Linked DNA regions of Homo sapiens: regions 1, 2, 3, 4, 5 and 6 are each linked to region 7. Evidence: promoter capture Hi-C in 16 types of primary human blood cells and fetal thymus (Javierre and others, 2016). All regions are on one chromosome and are shown on one strand. Each heading gives the region's core, a stretch centred on a gene start or on the middle of the fragment in contact. The rest is flanking DNA. Distances are from core to core; before and after follow the strand shown.

Region 1 (3,027 bases), core at 51-2,550, 1.6 Mb before region 7:
CAGAAAAAAATTGTTTAATCTAGTGCATAATGAATACGTTACAAACAAATTAATTAAAACTAATAAGTCTGGACATGAAAGGCAGAACAAAAAAAAAATAAAGTTAGGCCCAAGAGGTTAGGCTGTTCCTAGGAAAGCTCTGAGGAGATGGAATCCATTTTGGCGCGACATGGTGTCAATAAAAACCCATTTAAATAAGGAAAAAGGAAAGAACGACCCATATATCCCTCCTAGGAGCTACCTTCTGCAACTTCCAAGCTTCGTCAGTAGAAGTTAGGCGATCAGCGAGAAAGAAATTATTCTCCGATATTTTGAAGAGACTGGAGAGAGAAAAATGGAATACAGGCCGGTTACTCCCCCGACTCAGGCCACGCGATCCCAAAGTGTGTAGCCTCGCTAACGGCCACTTCTCTAGCCAACGTGAGGCTCATCACTCACCACAATACTATTAACTGGCGAGTTTCTGGACTTTTGTTAGTGGACTCATACTTCGGACGCCTTGCAACCCCCGTAAGGACGCAGTGATTGCACTCCGTGCAAACGCCGCCATCTTAAGTCTTCCACTAGCCCTAGGGCATAGGCGGATGAAAGCCGGGGGTGGGCGTCACAGCCAAACAGGCCCGGCGCCCAGCCGTCGTGCACTACCTAAATGCCTCCGCCGGCAACATGCACCAGCCGTTGCCGTGCCCCAGCCGTTGCCGTGCCGCAGCCGTTGCCGTGCCGCAGCCGTTGCCGTGGACCCTCCCCCAGTTTCCTGACCTGTTGCACTTCCTCTCACAGCCTTTATCTCTTTTGAAATTCCCTTTTCCTTTTTCTTTCTCTTCATTTCTTTTTTCCTTTCCCAACCCAAATTTCTTTTAGCTTTGCCTCGACTCCTTTCTTTCTTCCCTATTTCCAGATCTCTCACTCTCATTAACTTTACCTCACAAGTATGATAGACAAAGCTGCCATTCACTTCTGTTATCTCACTAAGTCATTGCAACATCAGGTAAGCTGAGGACTGATTTTTTCCTGTTTTATAGATGACGAAATTAAGGCCCAAAGAGGTGACCCAATTTTCCAAAAGTGCTAGAATGAGCTAGAACCTACTTCTTTTCACTTTACTAAGCCCCGTGTTCCGATAGATGAGGGTGTATGTACTTCAACCAACTAATGGGAAAACAGAAACCAGAGGGTTTTGGCCTAGTCATACAGTGAGTCCGTCAATGGCAAAACTGGATTCAGAACAAGGTGCTTCCTTTAATTCTGTAAACAAAAGAGTCTTCATAAAAGAGTTGGTAGCCAGGTGTGGTGGCGCTTGCCTGTAATCTCAGTGTAATCCCAGCTACTTGGGAGGCTGAGGTGGGAGAATCGCTTGAACCCGGGAGGCGGAGGTTGCAGTGAGCTGAGATCGTGCTGCTGCATTCCAGCCTGGGCGACCGTGCCAGACTCCGTCTCAAAAAAAAAAAAAAAAAAAAAGAGTTGAGATGCTGCTCTTGAGCCTAAAAGTCCTTCCATCTTCCCTCTTCTTTTATTTATTTTTGTTTTATTTTTTTGAGACGGAGTCTTGCTCTGTCGCCCAGGCTGGAGTGCAGTGGCGCGATCTTGGCTCGGTGCTACCTCCGCCTCCTGGGTTCAAGCGATTCTCCAGCCTCAGCCTCCTAAGTAGCTGGGATTACAGGCATCTGCCACCATGTCCAGCTAATTTTTACTAGAGACGGGGGTCTCACCATCATGGCCAGGCTGGTCTTGCACTCCTGACCTCAAGTGATCCACCCGCCTCAGCCTCCCAAAGTGCTGGTATTATAGGCGTGAGCCACCGCACCCAGCCTCCCTCTTCTTTTAGATTCAGCTCTTTTAGATTCAGTCCTGACACTTCTAAGAGGCCTCTATATTTATCAAAACCTTTATCTCTGTTGTTCCCGCTCCATGAGGGAAAATACACTAGCTGGATACCAGCCCCAAAAGTATGAAAAAACCGAGGCCAAAACTTGTTTGTGAAGCATTATGTGTGAGTGGTGCAGGTTTCTGGGGGAAGGCTTGTGCTTCACCGGTAAGGAAAAGACACTTTAGAGGTCCTAATCCCTTTCCAAAGCTATAGTTTCTCTCTATGCACTAATGTTGTCTCTGGTTTTCTACGAGACCCCCACATAGAACACCTCTTATTCTATTCATTTGCATCATTACTTTTCTGTCTTTATTTTGATATCGTCACCCTCAAAAGGAAGGTAATGATACACAGTTGTATAAAACATCTGGGCATTGACATATGGACATTTTGGAGTAAAACACCAAAAACACCACATAAAACCAGTTACGTGTTCAAAGGTCAGTAATAGAGGTGGAGAGGTCTCTAAGCTTAAACTGTTTCATCTCCTAGGGTTTAGGCATATTTGAGCACATCTTGGAAATTTGTAGGACAGGCACCAAAAACCAATTGCAAAAGGAACTGTTGAGCTCCTAAGAAAGAACTAGTACTAAAAGAGTAGGGAATCAGATAGACAATGTAGGGTAAAAGAAGGATCAAGTCTGAATGTTGCAGAGGAGGCAAATATGACTGTAAATTCTGTCATATTTTCTTTTGGCAGTAGCACACCATGCATTTATTTTGGGGCAGGTACAAAACATCCCTCTGTAGTAATTTAATGGTAAGTAGAAAGGGGGATAAAAATGAGTGAAACCTGCCGGGCACGGTGGCTCATGCCTGTAATCCCAGCACTTTGGGAGGCCGAGGTGGGCGGATCACCTGAGATCAGGAGTTTGAGACCAGACTGGCCAACAATTACAGCAATACAAAAATTAGCTGGATGTGGCGGTGGGCACCTGCAATCCCAGCTACTCGAGAGGCTGAGGCGAGATAATCACTTGAATCCAGGAGGCGGAGGTTGCAGTGAGCCGAGATAGCGCCACTGCACTCCAGCCTGGGCGACAGAGCAAGACTCCGTCTCAAAAAAAAAAAAAATGAAATCTATTGCAGTTTTGTTCTGATGACTCTTGGGACTTTGTCTGTTTGGGAGGAAAATGACTTTTTATTTATTTATTTTTTTT
Region 2 (2,766 bases), core at 247-2,746, 1.7 Mb before region 7:
GTATTTCTGTTTGATGTTCTTGTTATTGGCAAAATCACCAAGCTGCTATCCACAATGGATGAAATAATTTACAATTCAACGAGCAATCCATAAGCATTCCCTTTTATCTGTAGATTCGACAACGTACTATTTTTGACTTTTTAGTAACAGCCATTCTGGTTGGTGTAAGACAGAATTGCATTGTGGTTTTAATTAGCATTTCTCTATAGATTAGTGATGTTCAGCATTTTGTCATATGACTCCTAGCTGTATGCATGTCTTCCTTTGAAAAAATGTCTATGTACTTTTTCATATTTTCAATGTGGTTTTCTCCCCATGAATTTAAGTAGCTTATAAATTCTGGATATTAGAACTTTGTCAGATGCATAATTTGCAGATATTTCTCCCATTCTGTACATTGTGTTCACCATTGATAGATTCTCTTGCTGTGCAGAATCTCTATAGTTTAACTAGGTTCTATTTGTCAATTTTTGTTTTTGCTGTAATTGCATTTGGAGTCTTCATCATAAATATTTTTCAGAACCTATGTTCAGCATGGTATTTCCTAAGTTATATTTTAGCATTTTTATGGTATTATATTTTACATTTAAGCCCTTAATCTATATTGAGTCATTATATGTAATGTAAGGAAGCGGTCCAGTGTCAACCTTGAATATATACGTAGTCAGTTATGCCAGCACCATTTATTGAACAGGAAGTCCTGTCTTCATTGCTTGTTTTGTCAACTTTGTTGAGAAGCAGATGACTGTTGGTGTACAGCTTTGTGTTCTATATTCTGCTCCATTGGCCTCCATGTCTACTTTTATACCGGTACCATGCTGTTATGGTTACTGTAATCTTGTAGAATACTTTCAAATTCAGGTAATGTTATGCTTCCAAGTTTGTTTTTTGTCTAGAATTGCCTTGGCTATTAGGACTTTTTCACTCCATATGAATTTTTAAAGGTTGTATTAATTCTGCAAAGAATGTCATTGGTAGTTTGAATAGCAATTAATGTATAAATTGCTTTGGGGATTATGGCCATTTTAACAATGTCATTTCTTCCTATTTGTGTCATCTATGATTTCCTTCAGTAGTGTTTTGTAATTCTCCTTATAGTGATCTTTCACCTTCCTGGTTAAATGTGTTCCTGGGTGATTTATGCTTTTTGTGGCTATTGTGAATGGGTTTGCCTTCCTGATTCAATTCTGAGCTTTGATGTTGGTGCTGTATAGAAATGCTAAGTTACAGACTGACTTTTTATACTGAAACTTTGTTGAAGTTTTGTATCTAATCTAGGAGCTTTGGGGCTTTGAGGTTTTCTATGTATAAAATCATGTTGTCTGCAGAGATAGTTTTACTTCTTTTCCTATTTGGATGCCTTTTCTATTAACTGATTGCTCTAGCTAGAACTTCCAGTAGTATGTTGAATAGGTGTGGTGACACTGAGCATCCTTGACTTGCTCTGGTCATAAAAGGAATGCTTCCAACTTTTGCCAGTTGATTATGAGGTTGGCTGTGAGTTTGTAACAGATGGGTCATTATTTTGAGATATGTTTCTTCAATGCCTAATTTGTTGAGGGTTCATAACATGAAGTAATGTTAAATAAATAGTTTCTGCATCTATAGAGATGAACATGGTTTTAGCTCTGCTTATGTGATAAATCACATTTTTTTCGTAAGTTCTGTATGTTGTACCAACCTTGCATCACACAAATATAGCCTCCTTAATCATGGGGAATTTGCTTTCTGATATGCAAGTGGATTAGGTTTGCTGGTATTTTCTTGAGAATTTTTCCTTTTAAGTTCATCAAGGATATTTGTCTCAAGTTTGTGTTGTGTCTCTGCCAAGTTTTGGTATCAGGATCATGCTGGCTTCATAAAATGATTAAGGGAGGAGTCCTTCCTCCTTGATATTTTGGAATAGCTTAACTAGGAATTTCACCAGCTCTTTCTTACATATCTGGTTGTATTCAGCCATAAATCCATCAGGTCCAGGTAGGGTTGGTAGGGTTTTTATTACTGATTCAATTTCAAAACTGGTTAGTTATTTCTTGTCTGCTGCTAGCTTTGGAATTAGTGTACTCGTTTTCTAATTCCTCTGTTTGTTATATTAGCTTGTTAAATTGAGATATTGAACTTGTCCATTTCTGCTTTAACTTCATTATTTATGCCAACATAATTAAGGATCAAGTTGCTTAATTTCCATGTAATTGTATAGTGTTGAGTAATCTTCGTGTTGATTTCTATTTTTATTGTGCTCTGGTCCAAAGATCTGTTTAGTATGATTTTGCTGTTATTTGAATTTGGTGAGGATTGTTTTATGGCCCACTGTGTAGTCAACTATAGAGTATGTGCCATGTGCAGATGAGAAGAATGTGTACTTGGTGGTTTTGGGTGGACATTAATATGGATGTCTGATAGGTCCATTTGGTCAAGTGTCAAGTACAGGACTAAAATATCTCTTAGCTTTCAGCCTCAGTGATCTAATAGTGTCAATGGGGTAGTGAAGTTTCCCACTCTTATTGTCTGCTTATCTAAGTCTCTTCATAGGTCTGTAGGAACTTCTTTTATGAACGCGCATGATCCTGTGTTCAGTGCATATATAGTTAGCTCTTGTTGAGTTGAACTCTTCATGATTATATCTTTCTCTGTCCTTATTGACAATTGCTGTTTTAAAGTCTATTTTCTATGAAGTTAGAATAGCAATCTGTCCCTCCTCCTTTTTTCTGTTTGCTTGGTAGAATTTTCTCCATCCCTTTACCTTGAGTCAATGGGTGCCATTAC
Region 3 (3,011 bases), core at 298-2,797, 1.8 Mb before region 7:
GGAAGGAAGAAGAAAACAGCTTCCCCGTACAGAGACAGAAGGCAGGGGGATTCGAACAAAGAGAAAAACTCCAAGTGTGATAGAAAAGTGGCTGCTTATATGAGGAGGCTGGAGGACGTTTGTGTCTGATTTGGATAGGGCTCAGGGGATTGGTTTGACCAAGCATGTCATTCACGTAGCCTGAGAAAAAACTGGCCCTCCCACCCTAGCCTTTTAATATGCAAATGCAGGGCACCATGATATTTTACACATGTGTGGATATGTGGGGGTGGCCGTGTTGCCAGGCACATGTGGAGGCCAGGGCAAGAATAAGACTGCAGGAATTGCCATGTTTGGGTGGGCCCAGTTTCTAATGGCCGGTATTTGCATATCAAAGCTTGCTGGCCTAGCTTTCCTGCTAGACAAGAAATGTTTCTGGAGTTGCTCTAAAAGAAAAAAAAGAACTTCCCAAGGACCCCTTTTCTTATCTGCTTAAAATAATTTCTTAATAACTCTTTCTTTTTTTTTTTTTTTTTTTTTTTTTGAGACAGAGTCTTGTTCTGTCACCCAGGCTGGAGTGCAGTGGCACGATCTCGGCTCACTGCAACCTCCGCCTCCTGGGTTCACGTGATTCTCCTGCCTCAGCCTCCCAAATAGCTGGGATTACAGGTGCACAACACCACGCCTGGCTAATTTTTTGTGTATTTTTAGTAGAGATGGGGTTTCACTATGTTGGCCAGACTGGTCTCGAACTCCTGACCTCGTGATCCGCCTGCCTCAGCCTCCCAAAGTGCTGGGATTACAGGTGTGAGCCACCGCGCCCAGCTCTTAATAACTCTTATAACAAGAATTATAATTTCCTCCACATCCATCACTGTTGTAGAAGCCTCCATAGCTACCTCCACCACATCTGCTGCTGCTGCCATGACCACCTCCACCACTGCAGCTGCTGCTTGTATGACTACTACTGAAGCCAGAACTGCTGGAACCACTACTTTGTCAATAGTCTCTGGCACCAAATCCTCCACTGAATCTTTTAGATCATGCATGAATACCACCCTTGTAGTGGTGTTTATAAGCTTTATTTTCCAACCAAGCAGGCACTTCTTGTTTAGCTTCTATAAGAATATCCAACAAATCCTTTGTAATATTCATATTTCTTTAATTAAAGAATGAGGTGGCAAGACCCTGGATTCCCACACATCCTGTACAGCCAATACAAGGCACATATTCTTCAATATCACTTGGCAAATCAAAATTGAAGCATGTTTCACATTTGAAATGTCTAGTCTTCATGCTGCCACAGCTGTAGCCACTAGAATTGGGATTTTCCCCAAGCAAAACTGATGAAGGGCCTCCTTCTCGATCTCTCTGTGATTGGTCTCCATGAATACTAGTACAAGGATATACTTCATGGTATAAGAAATTCTCCAGAGAATCTTCTCCCTTTTTGGTCTCCACAAACACTAAAGTCAGTGAATCCTTCCCTGGTGCATTTAAGAGATCAAGCAGAAATGACCGTTTATCTGGCTCTTCCACCCAAACTACTTCCTGTGTGATAGTCTCAGAGGTAGAGCCTACTCTTCCTACAGCCAAAAAGATATATTCATCCAAAAAGTCACGAGCAAGCATCTGTATTTCGTTAGGAAAAGTAGCACTAAACATCATGATGTGATGAATGCCCTTCAGTGGCATAGTATCTTGTTCAAGTATAAGATGTATCTGAGGTCCAAATCCCATATCCAGCATCCTATCAGCTTCATCCAACACTAAGTATTTGCAGAAGTCTAATCCAATCTTTCCTCTTTCCATCAAATCCACTAGACCTCCTGGCGTGGCTACTAACAAGTGGCATCCATGTTCTAAGACCTGAATTTGCTGACCAATATCAGCATCACCATAAACTACACAAGGATGAACTCTAGGCTGGTATGAAAATTTTCTGACTTCCTCATATCTGTACAGCCAATTCTCTTGTTGGGGCTAAAACCCAGGAGATTGAGTATTGTTCATGGCATCCATACCTTCCATTTTCCTTCACAGCCTTCAAAGCTTTTCCTGGACCATCTATATATATCTGACTCAGTACGGGTAAAAGAAATGCTGCAGTTTTCCCAGACCCTGCTTGGGCACAAGACATTAAGTCTCTTTTTTTCCCCTAATAATAGGAATGGCATGTTTTGCAGTGGAGTAGGATGAGTATAGTAAGTAAGCTCTGTAAGGTCCTCTGAGCTGGCCGCACCATGGTCAAGCCATCGTGACATTCCCCCGCCCTTGTGATAATGTACTTTGTGATATTCCCCATCCTTGTGAAGGTAGTTTGTAACATTCCCCGCCCTTGTGACAATACACCCTCCCCGCCCTTGTTAATGTATTTGTAACATCCATCCCCTGCCTGCAAAAAATTGCTTCTGACTCCACTGCCTATCCCAAACCTATAAGAATAAATGATAATCCCACCACCCTTTGCTGACTCCTTTCTTGGATTCAGCCCACTTGCACCCAAGTGAATAAACAGCCTTGTTGCTTACACTAAGCCTGCTCAGGTGGTCTCTTATACGGACACACATAGTATTTGGTGCTGAAGACCCGGGACAGGGGAACTCCTTCAGGAGACTGGTCCCCTGTCCTCATGCTACCTCTGTGAGGAGATCCACCTACGACCTCAGGTCATCAGACCAGCCAGCCCAAGGACCATTTCACCAATTTCAAATCGGTAAGCAGTTATTTGCACTCGGGTAAGCAGTGTTTTTGCTCTCTACCTAACCTCTATTGCCTCCCTTCAATCTCTCTCCTTTCAATTTCAGTTTCTCTCCCTTCCTGGTAGAGACAAAAAGGAGACACACTTTATCTGTGCATTCAAAAACTCCGATGTTGGTCACGGACTTGGGAAGACAGTCTTCCCTTGGTGTCTGATCACCGTGGGGACACCTGTCTTGATCATTCACCCACATTCTCTTGGTGGCAGGTCAATTATGGGGATGCCTGCTTTGGCTGCTCACCCACATTACAGCCCAGGACTCAGTCAGGGA
Region 4 (2,711 bases), core at 36-2,535, 1.7 Mb before region 7:
TATCTTGCAGTTTTGATTTGCAACTCACTAATGATTAGAGATGTTGAGCATTTTTTTCATGTATCAATCAATTGGCCACTCATGTCTTCCTCTGAAAAATTTAAGTTGAGGTCCTTTTCCCCCTTTTAAAGACAGTTGTTTTCTTGCTATTGGGCTTGGGTTTCTTAATACATTTTGGATATTAGCCCCTTATCAGATATATGATTTGAAAATGGTTTCTCAAAACCCGTGTCTTCATTCTGTTAACTGTACCCTTTGCAGTGCAGATGCTTTTTAGTTTGATGCAACTCAAGTTGTCTGTTGCGGGAAGTCAGGGACCCCAAACGGAGGGACTGGCTGAAGCCATGGCGGAAGAACGTGGATCGTGAAGATTTCATGGACATTTATTAGTTCCCCAAATTAATACTTTTATAATTTCTTATGCCTGTCTTTACTGCAATCTCTAAACATAAATTGTGAAGATTTCATGGACACTTATCACTTCCCCAATCAATACCCTTGTGATTTCCTATGCCTGTTTTAATCTCTTAATCCTGTCATCTCGTAAGCCGAGGAGGACGTATGTCGCCTCAGGACCCTGTGATAATTGTGTTAAGTGCAGAAATTGTAGAGCATGTGTGTTTAAACAATATGAAATCTAGGCACCTTGAAAAAAGAACAGGATAACAGCAATGTTCAGGGAATAAGAGAGATAACCTTAAACTCTGACCGCCGGTGAGCCAGGCGGAACAGAGCCATATTTCTCTTCTTTCAAAAGCAAATGGGAGAAATATCGCCGAATTCTTTTTCTCAGCAAGGAACATCCCTGAGAAAGAGAATGTGCCCCTGAGGGTGGGCCTCTAAAATGGCCCCCTTGGGTGTAGCTGTCTTCTATGGTCGAGACTGTAGGGATGAAATAAGCCCCAGTCTCCCATAGCGCTCCCAGGCTTATTAGGACGAGGAAATTCCCACCTAATAAATTTTGGTCAGACAGGTTGCTCTCAAACCCTGTCTCCTGATAAGATGTTATCAATGACGATGGTGCCCGAAACTTCATTAGCAATTTTAATTTCAACCCAGTCCTGTGGTCCTGTGATCTCGCCCTGCCTCCATTTGCCTTGTGATATTCTATTACCTTGTGAAGCACGTGATCTCTGTGACCCACCTCCTATTCGTATACTCCCTCCCCTTTGAAAATCCCTAATAAAAACTTACTGGTTTTACGGCTCAGGGGGCATCACGGAACCTACCGACATGTGATGTCTCCCCAGGATGCCCAGCTTTAAAATTTCTCTCTTTTGTACTCTGTCCCTTTATTTCTCAACCCGGCCAATGCTTAGGGAAAATAGAAAAGAACCTATGTGACTATCTGGGCAGGTTCCCTGATAGTTGTCTGGCTGTTTTTGCTGCCCATGCTTTTAAGGATGTATCCAAGAAATCATTGCCCAGAACAACATCATAGAGCTTTTCCCCTATATTTTCTACTAGTAGTTTTACAGTTTCAAAGGCAACATTTCAGGCTTTAATCCATTTTGAGTTGATTTTTCTATATGCTATGAGAAAATGGTTCAATTTCACATATAGATATACAGATATCTCAAAACAATTTATTTATTTATTTGTCCTCTCCCCATTCTGTGTGCCACTTTTGTCAAAAATCAATTGGATGGAAATGTATGAGTTATGTCTGGGCTTTCCTGTTCCACTGGTCAGTGAATCTGTTTTTATGCTGGTACCACAGTTTTTTGATAATGGATTACAAAATCAGGTAGAGTGATGCCTCCAGCTGTGTCCTTGTTGCTCAAGATTACTTTGATTATTTAATGTCTTTTGTAGTTCCATACAAGTTTTAGAATTTTTTTTGTATTTCTGTAAAAAAAATAAAAATAAAAAGGACATTGAAATATTGATTACACAGAATCTGTATGTTTCTTTTGGCAGTATGAAAATTATAACAATATAAATTTCCCAATCCATGTACAAAGAAAAATTTCTATTTTTGTAATCTTCAATTCGTTTCATCAATGTTTTCACTATACAGATCTTTAACCTACTTGGTTAAATTCATTCATAAGTTTGTTTACTTAGTAAATAGTGTAAATGTGATTAGTTTCCTGATTACTTTTTTGGATAGATTGTTGTTTGTTAGTGTATAGAAATGCTACAGACTTAATTGTCAATTTTGTACGTAGCACTTTTTATGGAATTCATTTTATTAGTTCTATAGTTTTTTTTTTTTTAATGGAGTCTTTAAGGTTTTCTAGCTATAAGATAAGATAATCAGGAGAGGCAAGTTTTTTCTTCTTTTCCTACTTAGATGTCTTTTATTTCTCTTGCCTAAATGCTCTTGCTATGACTTCCAGTACAACACTGAACAGAAGGAGAAAAAATGGCATCCATGTCTTGTTCCTGATCTTAGAGAAAAAGCCTTCAACTCTTCGGTGTTAAGATTTCAGCTCTGGGCCGGTCATATAGGGCCTTTAATGTGTTGAGACATCTTCCTTTTATACCTAACTTGTTCAGGTTTTTATCATGCAAAGATGTTAAGTATTGGGCCGGGGACTGTGGCTCATGCCTGTAATCCCAGCACTTTGGGAGGTCAAGGAGGGTGGATCACCTGAGGTTAGGGGTTCAAGACCAACCTAGCCAACATGGTGAAACCCTGTCTCAACTAAAAATACAAAAGTTAGCTAGGCATGGTGGCAGATGCCTGTAATCCCAGCTGCTCGGGA
Region 5 (2,700 bases), core at 192-2,691, 2.0 Mb before region 7:
TGGCCTCCCAAAGTGCTGGGATTACAGGTGTAAGCCACTGCGCCCGGCCTGTTAAGATTTTTTGTTTCTGTTTTTTTCTGATTGCTCTCTCTCTCAAAGCAGCTCATATACATTATACATTTTGTTTCTGGTTTATTTTCATTAAACTACACACTCTATGCAGGGCCAGACAGAGATGTCTCGTTCAATGTTGTTTAAAACCTAATGAGGCCAGATAATTCAAAGCCATCAATATGATAAAATTTAAGTTACTTTGGCAAGGTCATGGATTTTCAGAATCAGCTTTATTTGCCCTATGGATCTCTGAGGAAATATAACCTCCTCAGGGTGCCCTTGTGTATCTAAAACAGAACCACATTCTTTCCCTCTTTCCCCCACATACACATTCTCTTTTTATCCTTTTACCTCCTGTTCTTTCTCTCTATGGCAATTTACCTTCATCTGACACACTATTTTTCTTGTTAATAGATTCTAGGCCTGTGTTTCTAAATTTGTTCTAATTTGTTCACCATTTAGATCCAGCTCTTCCAATAGTGCCTCTTAATTAAATGTGTTAAATCAAAATACAACAAAAGAACCCCTTAAGTGATTGGTGCTCAGAATGACTATTTAATAACTAGATTTGCCCGTGGGGCAGAAGCAACACGTTAATTGTGGGGCATCTACCAATGATTAACTTTTTTGAGGTTTTTTTTTCTAGCTCTTTCCTCCTTTAACATGGTAATTAAAGCTCACTTGCCTGAGAGTAGCCTCAATCTATCGACCTTTCGGTGAGTGAAGTTTTCGGAGAAAATAATACAATTATCAATCAGCAAAAGGGTGGGGGGTGGGGGGGAAGATTTAAGTGGTAACCTCACTGGGACATTCCTTGGCTAGATGTCGGGATTTGCCGCAGCGGTAGCAGTTGACCTGGCCTCGCCTTGCTGCAATTGATGGCCACGTGGCCAATCTCGCCGCATCGGTAACACTTGACCTGGGCGCAGTCTTTCTGAATGTGCCCAAGTTTGCCGCAAGAGTAGCATTTCTGCTCTTTCTGACGATCACAGTCACGAGCCAGATGTCCTAGTCTGCCGCAGGTATAACAGTGTTGGCGTCTCTCTCGTTTAGGATCCTTACAGTCTTTGGCGATGTGGCCGCTTCTCCCACAGTTGTAGCAGATGTTTCCGAGAAGGACACAGTTCTTAGCATTACGACCGGACTCACCACAGCAGTAACAGGTGTAAGATAGGGTGGTGGAACCACATTGAGAACCTCTGCCATGGCCTCCACCTCTTCGCCCTCCAGCTCCTCCTCTAGGGCATCCCCGAGCCCAATGGCCAGAGTGTCCACACGCGAAGAAATCCTTACTGCTCATGGCTGCGATGCGATCTTCCAATGAGCAGGCCCACCTCGGCCCCGGAGGCCCCGGCGCAACCCCGCTTTGGGCGGCTTAGAAAGAATTAGCTGTTTTCCGCTAGGTGTCTCAGTGATGTCATACAAGGTTTGCACACGGCCCCATTCACGTGTCACGGACATTCCTGACGCCCTTCCCGCCCGACTTTCCTCCTACTCAAGAAGCCAAAAGCACAATAATCTGTTAACTGAGTAGTGTTGTTTTCCGTTTTTGTTTGTTTCAACACTTGAATCATTGAGTTTGAATCCTTTCCTATTTAGAAAATTAGACTTGTAGAAGTTTTCATAATTTAAGACTTAGTCGGCCGGGTGCGGTGGCTCATGCCTGTAATCCCAGCTCTTCGGGAAGGCCAAGGCGGGAGGATCACGAGGTCAAGAGATTGAGACCATCCTGGCCAACATGTTGAAACCCCGTCTCTACTAAAAATACAAAAATTAGCCGGGCATGGTGGCGGGCTCCTGTAATCCCAGCTGAGGCAGTTGAACCAGGGAGGCAGAGGTTGCAGTGAGCCAAGATCGCGCCATTGCATTCCAACCTGGGCGACAGAGGGAAACTCTGTCTCAAAAAAAAAAAAAAAAAAAAAAAATTTGGTGTTCCAGTGGAGGTGAGGGGGACAAATTGTGTCGACTTCTATCCCATGATCTTGCTCTGTCCCCTGGGTTTCTTAATTCACTAAATAATTGGAACTCATAGTTTGAAGCATACTATTTAGAGGCATATGTGTAAACATATCTTTATATTACGAGTTATTTATTTATTTATTTTAGACAGGAGGAGTCTTGCTATGTTGCCCAGACAGGTCTCAAACTCTTGGGCTTGAGCAATCAGCCTCCTGAGTAGCTGGAACCACAATCATATGCTGGCTACTATGACTTTTTGATGTTTCAATTTTAGACATTATCTGTGTCTTTCCATTTTGGAGGATGAACATTTAGTCTTCTTTTACCACCCACCCTATGCACTTGCACAGTCCAAACTCCTCATTCCAACTATGCCTCCCTTCACTTAATATTGGTTGGGACAATATTCAATGTTTTTATAATTATAAGTATGTAAATGATACTCATGCCTGAGCCATTTGGAGAGTACTCTGATCACTTCATTACCTGCATGGTTTTTATGTTCTCTGGAGTTAGTTATTGTCATTCTTTATTTCTTTAGTTTCTCATATATTTACCTAAATACTATTTAATAGCTATATCTGTGTGTTTATCTTTATACCAGTACCACATAATCTTGATTACTGTAGCTTTGCATTATACTTTGAAATTGGGAGGAGTAAGGCCTCCAACTTTGCTCTTTTGATG
Region 6 (2,702 bases), core at 17-2,516, 1.3 Mb before region 7:
TTCAATTTTTCCTCAAGATTTCAATTTTTTAAAAAACCACCCTGGATAAATTTTAAAGAAATTATGCTCAGCTCCCAAAGTATTAATTTCCATATATATTTAATGCCTGTATATTTCATACTTGGGCATACAAAATCCCTTGGAGGTAAATTATCTCAGAACTGAAAAGCTTTAGAAACCATCTACTCCAAACCCTTCATTTTAGAGATGAAGAAATCAAGGCGCAGAAATGAGAAAAAGCAACCTGACCAAGGTCACAGGGCCAGTAAGAAGCAAAACCGGGACCAGCGTCTAAGAGCCCTGACTCAATCCATTTCTTTTTCTACTTTCCATAGCTGCCTCTCATCCTGAACCTCTAATCGAGTGATATATAAGGAAGGATTCGATAGGAAGAATGGATGGATGAATACGTGGGTGAATGAACATTCTATTATTATTCACAAAATATATCATGTTTCTGTTTTGAAGAATGCAAGCCTAGTTCTTGTCACATGTCACAGCAATTGCTGTTTCCCACAAAGTATCAATCTTGTCAGCAAAAAACCCTCTGGTACATCCTGCAGTTTAGAGACTGTTCACTTGCCAGCATACATACAAGAAAGGAGACTCACCCCTACTCCAATCGCTCTGGCTCCCAAACCCCTAACTTCCCTCTCCTATACTCACTCTTTACCTGGCATTGGTGCATCATATTTACATTCTCCTCACTTCCTTCACACGTATCCACCCATGGTTTCCCCATTTAGACCAGGTGTCCTTTCCTAAGTGTACGCCTCAGTCAATCAGTCAACCCTCCCCCACTCCACAGGCCCCTCGATCACTTCTCATTCCTCTGTTGCCAAATCTCAGGCATTTCAAGTCCCAAGACCCCCTCTCGCTTACACAGTGATGTGGCCGGCACCCCGCACTAATACAGGGTCGGGAGCATATCTCCGCAGATGCTCCTCGCTCACTACCCGAGGCGGGGGCGGCGCTTCCTCCTCCTCTTCCTCCTCCTCCTCTTCTTCCTCCTCCTCCTCTTCCTCCTCTTCCTCCTCATCCTCCTCGTCATCGTCGGGCCCAGATACCGACGACGACGACGACGGCGACGACGACGACGTTGCCGCTTCTTCTTCCTCCTCCTCCTCCAGTTCCGAGATGGTGTCGAACTCCGCCATGTTGGGCAGCAGGATGCTCATCACGTGACCTCGCGATCGCCGCCACGCTCCCGGAGAAGAGTTTGAACCTGCCGAGGTGCTGCAAGAGGAGGGGGAACGAAATGAAGAGAAAGAGGAGGGGTGTAGGGACAGGATTTGAGGAGACGCGCCTGCGTGTTGGGCAGACGGGGGGGTGGGGGGGCGGCTGCTGGAGGCGGGGGCACTAGAGAGGAGCAAAGTCAGTGTACGCTTGCGCAGCTCCAAGGGGAGGGGGCCGCTAGAGGTGAACTCCAAGGAGTTATCCAGGTCCGGTCTGCGGGTGCTCGCCTTAATACTGCTCTCTGAGCGTCAGCTACTTGTATTCGGGGTATCTTCTGATTTTATTGCTTATTAATTAATGCTGGGCATTATTAACCCAACTGCAGGCGGGTGAGAGAAAGCATATTGTATAAAAGTAAGGTTAGAACTTTGTCCAAAATATCTCAAGGTATATACCAATCCCTTACGTTTGTTCAGCATTACAGTTTAAAAGCCTTGCGTCATAACTTTGCCACAATCTTGGGAGGCAGGGTAAGCACTTTTATTAGCATTTTACTTAAGAGGAAACTTTTTACTACTTCTCCTATGTAATACTTAACGGAGGACTTATTAACTCAGGGACTGTGCTAAGTGCTCTGTATGTATATCTCATTTAATCCTCTGCAACCCTATGAGGTATGTATCATGATGATTTTATATTACAGATGGGAAATCTAGGTGCAGAGAAAATAAGTAATTTGTCCAGTGTCAGGGAGCTACTAAATGGGAGACCTGGTTTTAAATTTGGTGGTCTCTTCTGATTCCAGAAGCCCAGTACTCTTAACCAAAGGGCTGTACTGCCTGAAGTTGTTTGGAAAGATTTTGTAGAATGGTGCCTCTTGGGCTCTTCCTTAAAAGATGAATCAGAATATGCATGTTTGAATTTTGGAGTGTTTTTTGGGGGAGGGGGCGGATGGAGGGGGTGAAAGGAGCATTCCAACCTAAGGAAACCTTAATTAACATCATCCATTTTCCAGACACTGAGCTAGACCCTCACATACAATATTTCAGTTAACCCTTAATCCTGAGAGGTAAGTATCATTATATCTATTTTATTACATGACAAAAGTGGGTCTCAGAAGTTTAAGTAATTTATTCAAGTCTATGGTGACCTTTTGTTCAAAATTTTCCATTTTAAATGGTCTATCCTATCTTCTTTACACTCACTAAAATGTTGTGGGGATCACATATTTTGCGTATCTAAATAGTGTGCCAAACTGTTTCATACTTGGCAGCAGCACAAAAATCCATATCATTAAGACAGTAAAGTCACACAGCTGCTAAGTAACAGAACAAACACTGTAATCCAGGCATTCTAATACCAGCTTCACTGCTCTTTCTGCTACTCTACGGCTGCATCCCAATCAGATGGTGTGTCTCTGGGGAAACAGACATAGTCAAACTTTAATTTAGGATGAGCACGACATTATCAGTATAAACAAAGCATTTAATGTGTGTGAAGTAGGAAGAAATTAGTTCTGTAAGAGA
Region 7 (2,804 bases), core at 272-2,771:
AGAGCCGGTGTCCCGGGCCCTGGCCCCCGACAGCTTTAGAAGCCGGGCACTGGCCAGGGCTCCGGGCGAGGGCTGCCCATAGCCCGGACTCGCCAGCCCCACCCCGGGAGCCTTGGCCGGTCCACAGGGCTGCCGGACTCGCGTGGCCGCGTGGACTCCGTTCCCCAGCCGGCCCTTTGCTTTCACACGATCCGCGGTGACTGCACCAGCTCGAGCGCCTTTAAAGGGCCACAGACGCCAGCCGCTGCTATAAAAATGTGCCCGGCGGCAAAGCTGCAGAAGGGGCACCGCTGAGCTGCCGAGAGGAAGCTCGCTCTGCCCGGCTGCCCTCTTGTAGTCCGCCGGCGAGGGGCAGTTCTCGGTGAGGAGGAAGAGAGCAGCGGACGGCACAGCACCCGCGCGGGCCCTCCGTGAGTATCCAGTTCAGATTTTGCCACCAACTCGCCCACGAGCCAGGACATGTGCTAATAATGCCCTAAGCCGGTTATAAAGACGTGGAAATTGAGGGGAGAAAAAAAAAGGGAAAAAAAGGGTCTGTCCTTCCTGGGATTCCTAGCCGAGGCCAGTCTGCTGCCGTGTGCGTGTGCGTCAGGGCTCTCCGGGCGGCAATGGGGGCTTGAGAGCCGGGTCCCCAGCGCCGGGAAGGGAGCGCGGTGGCCGCCACCGCCACCGCCCCGGAGTCCGGCGCCGAAGCTGCGGGCGGGCGGGCGGGCACCAGCTCGGTCAGGGGCTGCTTGGCGCGGCACTGTGCGGTGCAGCGGCGGCGCGGCGCGGTGCGGGCTTTTCCCAGGCGCCCCGGGGTCGGGTGGCCAACGGCGCGGCCGCGGGCGCTGAGCGCGACCGGTTCGCGGTAGCGGTGGCGGCGGCGTGCGTGCCAGGGGCTGGGGGCTCCGCCGCCTCTCTTGCGGCTCACCGAGCTCCGCGCTTCCCTCTCTCCAGGGCAGGCGGCTTCTCAGAGGTAAGCCGGGCCGCCGGGCTGGGCGCCGGGCTGGGCGGCGGGGCCGAGGACTCCCGTGGAGCGGGTATGGGGAGTGGGCGGCCGCCAGGCGGGCCGGAGGGTTCTGGGGAGACTTGCTTTCTGTTGGAAAGCTGCTCTGCTGGGGGCGAGGGGCCGCCCGCCCGCCCGCCCGCCAGCGCTCGGGTTCGCTTGCCAGCGCGCCCCCCTGCCGGCCAGCGGGGCCGGGTGCCCGCTTCTCCCGGGGAGACGGCAGCACCTTTTCTCCCTGCGCCCGCGCTTTCTCCAGCTTGGCTTCCACCGACTTTGCTAATCTCCCGGACCGCATCTGGACGCTCTGGCTCCGGAGCTGCACAAAGCTCAGATTTACTTCGGGGAATTGAGGCAAGAGGGGGCTTTTCGGGCCGAGTTCAGCGGAATTGCGGGATGGAAGTTAGCGAATTTGGGCAACTTGCCTCTACTGCCCAGTCGACCTCAGCCCTCCCCTCCCCCGACACACGCCCACACACACACACCCACGCGCACACCCCTCTCCCTATAAACGCGGGCTGGCGAGCCGCGCGCCGAGTCCCTGCTTCGCAGAGCACCGGACTTGGAGTCAGAGAGACCTGGCTGCGAATCCCGGCTCCGCCACTTTCTAGCGCTGTGACCTTGGGCAAGTTACCGCACCTCTCCGAGCCTCTCTCACTCTTCTCCTAGCGGGGTTTTAGCACTGACCGCAGGCGGCTTGGCTAGGGGGTAGGCTCAGCCTGCTGCCGCGTCGGATGCTCAGCGGGCGCTCAGTAAGTGTTGATCAGGCGCGAGAGTGGCAGCAGCCGGCGCCGGAGTGCGGACTCGCCGCGGAGGCCGACACCCCGTGCCCCTTCCTGCCTGTCCATCCTGTCTCTAAGATCAGTTCCTGATACAGCACTTGCGGGAACGGACGCTCAGGGCCCCGGTGGCCTGGGTGCACGCGCCCGCCGTGCAAGGGATGCTCCCGGCCGCCCCCGGTTCCGCGGCTCCATCTGGGATGCGGCGAGGAGGGCAGCCGAGCTGTCCGCAAACAACGGGCCTTTAGTTTTCAGGTGGCGAAACTGACTGGTCTGGTTAGAGCGCGTCCAAGCCAAGCCGCAGTGCTGTTTGGATTTTTAAATTTCTCCTTCTGAGTGAGAAAATAGCAATCGAGATGGAACCATCCGGTTGGTGCCATTTTAACTTTTGGTCCCCCAACAGGTTAAAGATGAGGCCCCCACCTGCCTCTCCCTTCTCTTTTCCCTCTCCCCTTCCCACCCCTGTCTAGGCGGGAGGGGGCTGCTCGCCCAAGGGAAGGCCTGAAGCGAAGAGCGGGCAGCGGGACTGGGAACTGGTGGCCGGGGGGCCGCCAGGCATCAGCCGGCGAGAAGGCACTTGTTGCTCTAGGTTTCCCAGCCGCCTGTCGCAGCCGTTTCGCAGTGGTCAGCTCGCGGCTTGGAGAGCGGGCTGGGACGTTTCCGCGTTGCCAAGTTTTGCCCACGAACGGGCTAGAGGGTGGTGGAGGAGGGCAGAAAGCCGGGGAAGCAGAGCCAGGGATGCCGATGGAAATGCGATTGCTTCTTCAGACGCATTCAACAACACTTACTGAGCGCCTATTGAGCGCAGACCCAGGCTGGGGTCAGGGTGGGTGGTGGGTCAGTAATGGAAGGCAGAAGATCTGAATGGACACAGGGCCTCTTCTGGGGGAGCTCCCAGATTGAAGAGGGAGGCGCGGTAAAATGGTCTTCCCCCACGAACTGATATCAGAATAGAGAGAGTTTTTTTGCTCGTTCTCTCTTTTGATTTTTCTAATGTTTCTCTTTTGGTTTTGCTGTTGTTGCTGCTGCTCCTGTTGTTT

The links. Contacts are between HindIII fragments. The CHiCAGO score rates a contact against its expected background, and 5 or more counts as called.
Region 1: a fragment that was not itself captured here is called in contact with the fragment with the promoter of CITED1 in region 7 in 7 of 17 cell types (naive B cells, total B cells, monocytes and 4 more); the score reaches 10.6 in naive B cells.
Region 2: a fragment that was not itself captured here is called in contact with the fragment with the promoter of CITED1 in region 7 in 2 of 17 cell types (total B cells and naive B cells); the score reaches 6.6 in total B cells.
Region 3: a fragment that was not itself captured here is called in contact with the fragment with the promoter of CITED1 in region 7 in 6 of 17 cell types (total CD4 T cells, total B cells, fetal thymus and 3 more); the score reaches 11.5 in total CD4 T cells.
Region 4: a fragment that was not itself captured here is called in contact with the fragment with the promoter of CITED1 in region 7 in 2 of 17 cell types (naive CD4 T cells and total B cells); the score reaches 6.8 in naive CD4 T cells.
Region 5: the fragment with the promoter of ZCCHC13 here is called in contact with the fragment with the promoter of CITED1 in region 7 in 2 of 17 cell types (neutrophils and naive B cells); the score reaches 11.9 in neutrophils.
Region 6: the fragment with the promoter of CHIC1 here is called in contact with the fragment with the promoter of CITED1 in region 7 in 7 of 17 cell types (total B cells, naive B cells, total CD4 T cells and 4 more); the score reaches 14.4 in total B cells.

What each region holds. Positions count from the first base shown.
Region 1 is chrX:73,941,877-73,944,903 of GRCh38, reverse strand. It overlaps JPX (JPX transcript, XIST activator), which reads right to left and starts at 580. Exons shown (of 5, transcript NR_024582.1): 1 at 439-580; 2 at 242-320. RefSeq lists an enhancer at 456-555. The HindIII fragment of the contact is 2,079 bases long and covers 261-2,339 here.
Region 2 is chrX:74,020,234-74,022,999 of GRCh38, reverse strand. The region is part of intron 3 of JPX (JPX transcript, XIST activator); the gene reads right to left. Among named protein-coding and RNA genes, the nearest start is that of JPX, 77 kb to the right of the region's middle. The HindIII fragment of the contact is 3,239 bases long and covers 1-2,766 here.
Region 3 is chrX:74,129,740-74,132,750 of GRCh38, reverse strand. The region is part of intron 5 of FTX (FTX transcript, XIST regulator); the gene reads left to right. It also overlaps the pseudogene DDX3P1. Among named protein-coding and RNA genes, the nearest start is that of MIR421, 87 kb to the left of the region's middle. The HindIII fragment of the contact is 973 bases long and covers 1,061-2,033 here.
Region 4 is chrX:74,003,407-74,006,117 of GRCh38, reverse strand. All of the region lies in intron 3 of JPX (JPX transcript, XIST activator), which reads right to left. Among named protein-coding and RNA genes, the nearest start is that of JPX, 60 kb to the right of the region's middle. The HindIII fragment of the contact is 6,389 bases long and covers 1-2,711 here.
Region 5 is chrX:74,302,921-74,305,620 of GRCh38, reverse strand. ZCCHC13 (zinc finger CCHC-type containing 13) reads right to left here and starts at 1,441. Exons shown (of 1, transcript NM_203303.3): 1 at 587-1,441. The coding sequence starts at 1,354. The coding sequence ends at 854. The HindIII fragment of the contact is 8,144 bases long and covers 1-2,700 here.
Region 6 is chrX:73,561,761-73,564,462 of GRCh38, reverse strand. CHIC1 (cysteine rich hydrophobic domain 1) reads right to left here and starts at 1,266. Exons shown (of 6, transcript NM_001039840.4): 1 at 883-1,266. The coding sequence starts at 1,178. It also overlaps the pseudogene MAP2K4P1. RefSeq lists a silencer at 1,287-1,346. The HindIII fragment of the contact is 6,151 bases long and covers 172-2,702 here.
Region 7 is chrX:72,304,631-72,307,434 of GRCh38, reverse strand. CITED1 (Cbp/p300 interacting transactivator with Glu/Asp rich carboxy-terminal domain 1) reads left to right here and starts at 1,521. Exons shown (of 3, transcript NM_001144887.2): 1 at 1,521-1,610. It overlaps LOC105373250 (a long non-coding RNA gene), which reads right to left and starts at 1,333. Exons shown (of 3, transcript XR_938441.2): 1 at 1,215-1,333. RefSeq lists an enhancer at 466-515 and a silencer at 242-536. The HindIII fragment of the contact is 8,247 bases long and covers 1-2,804 here.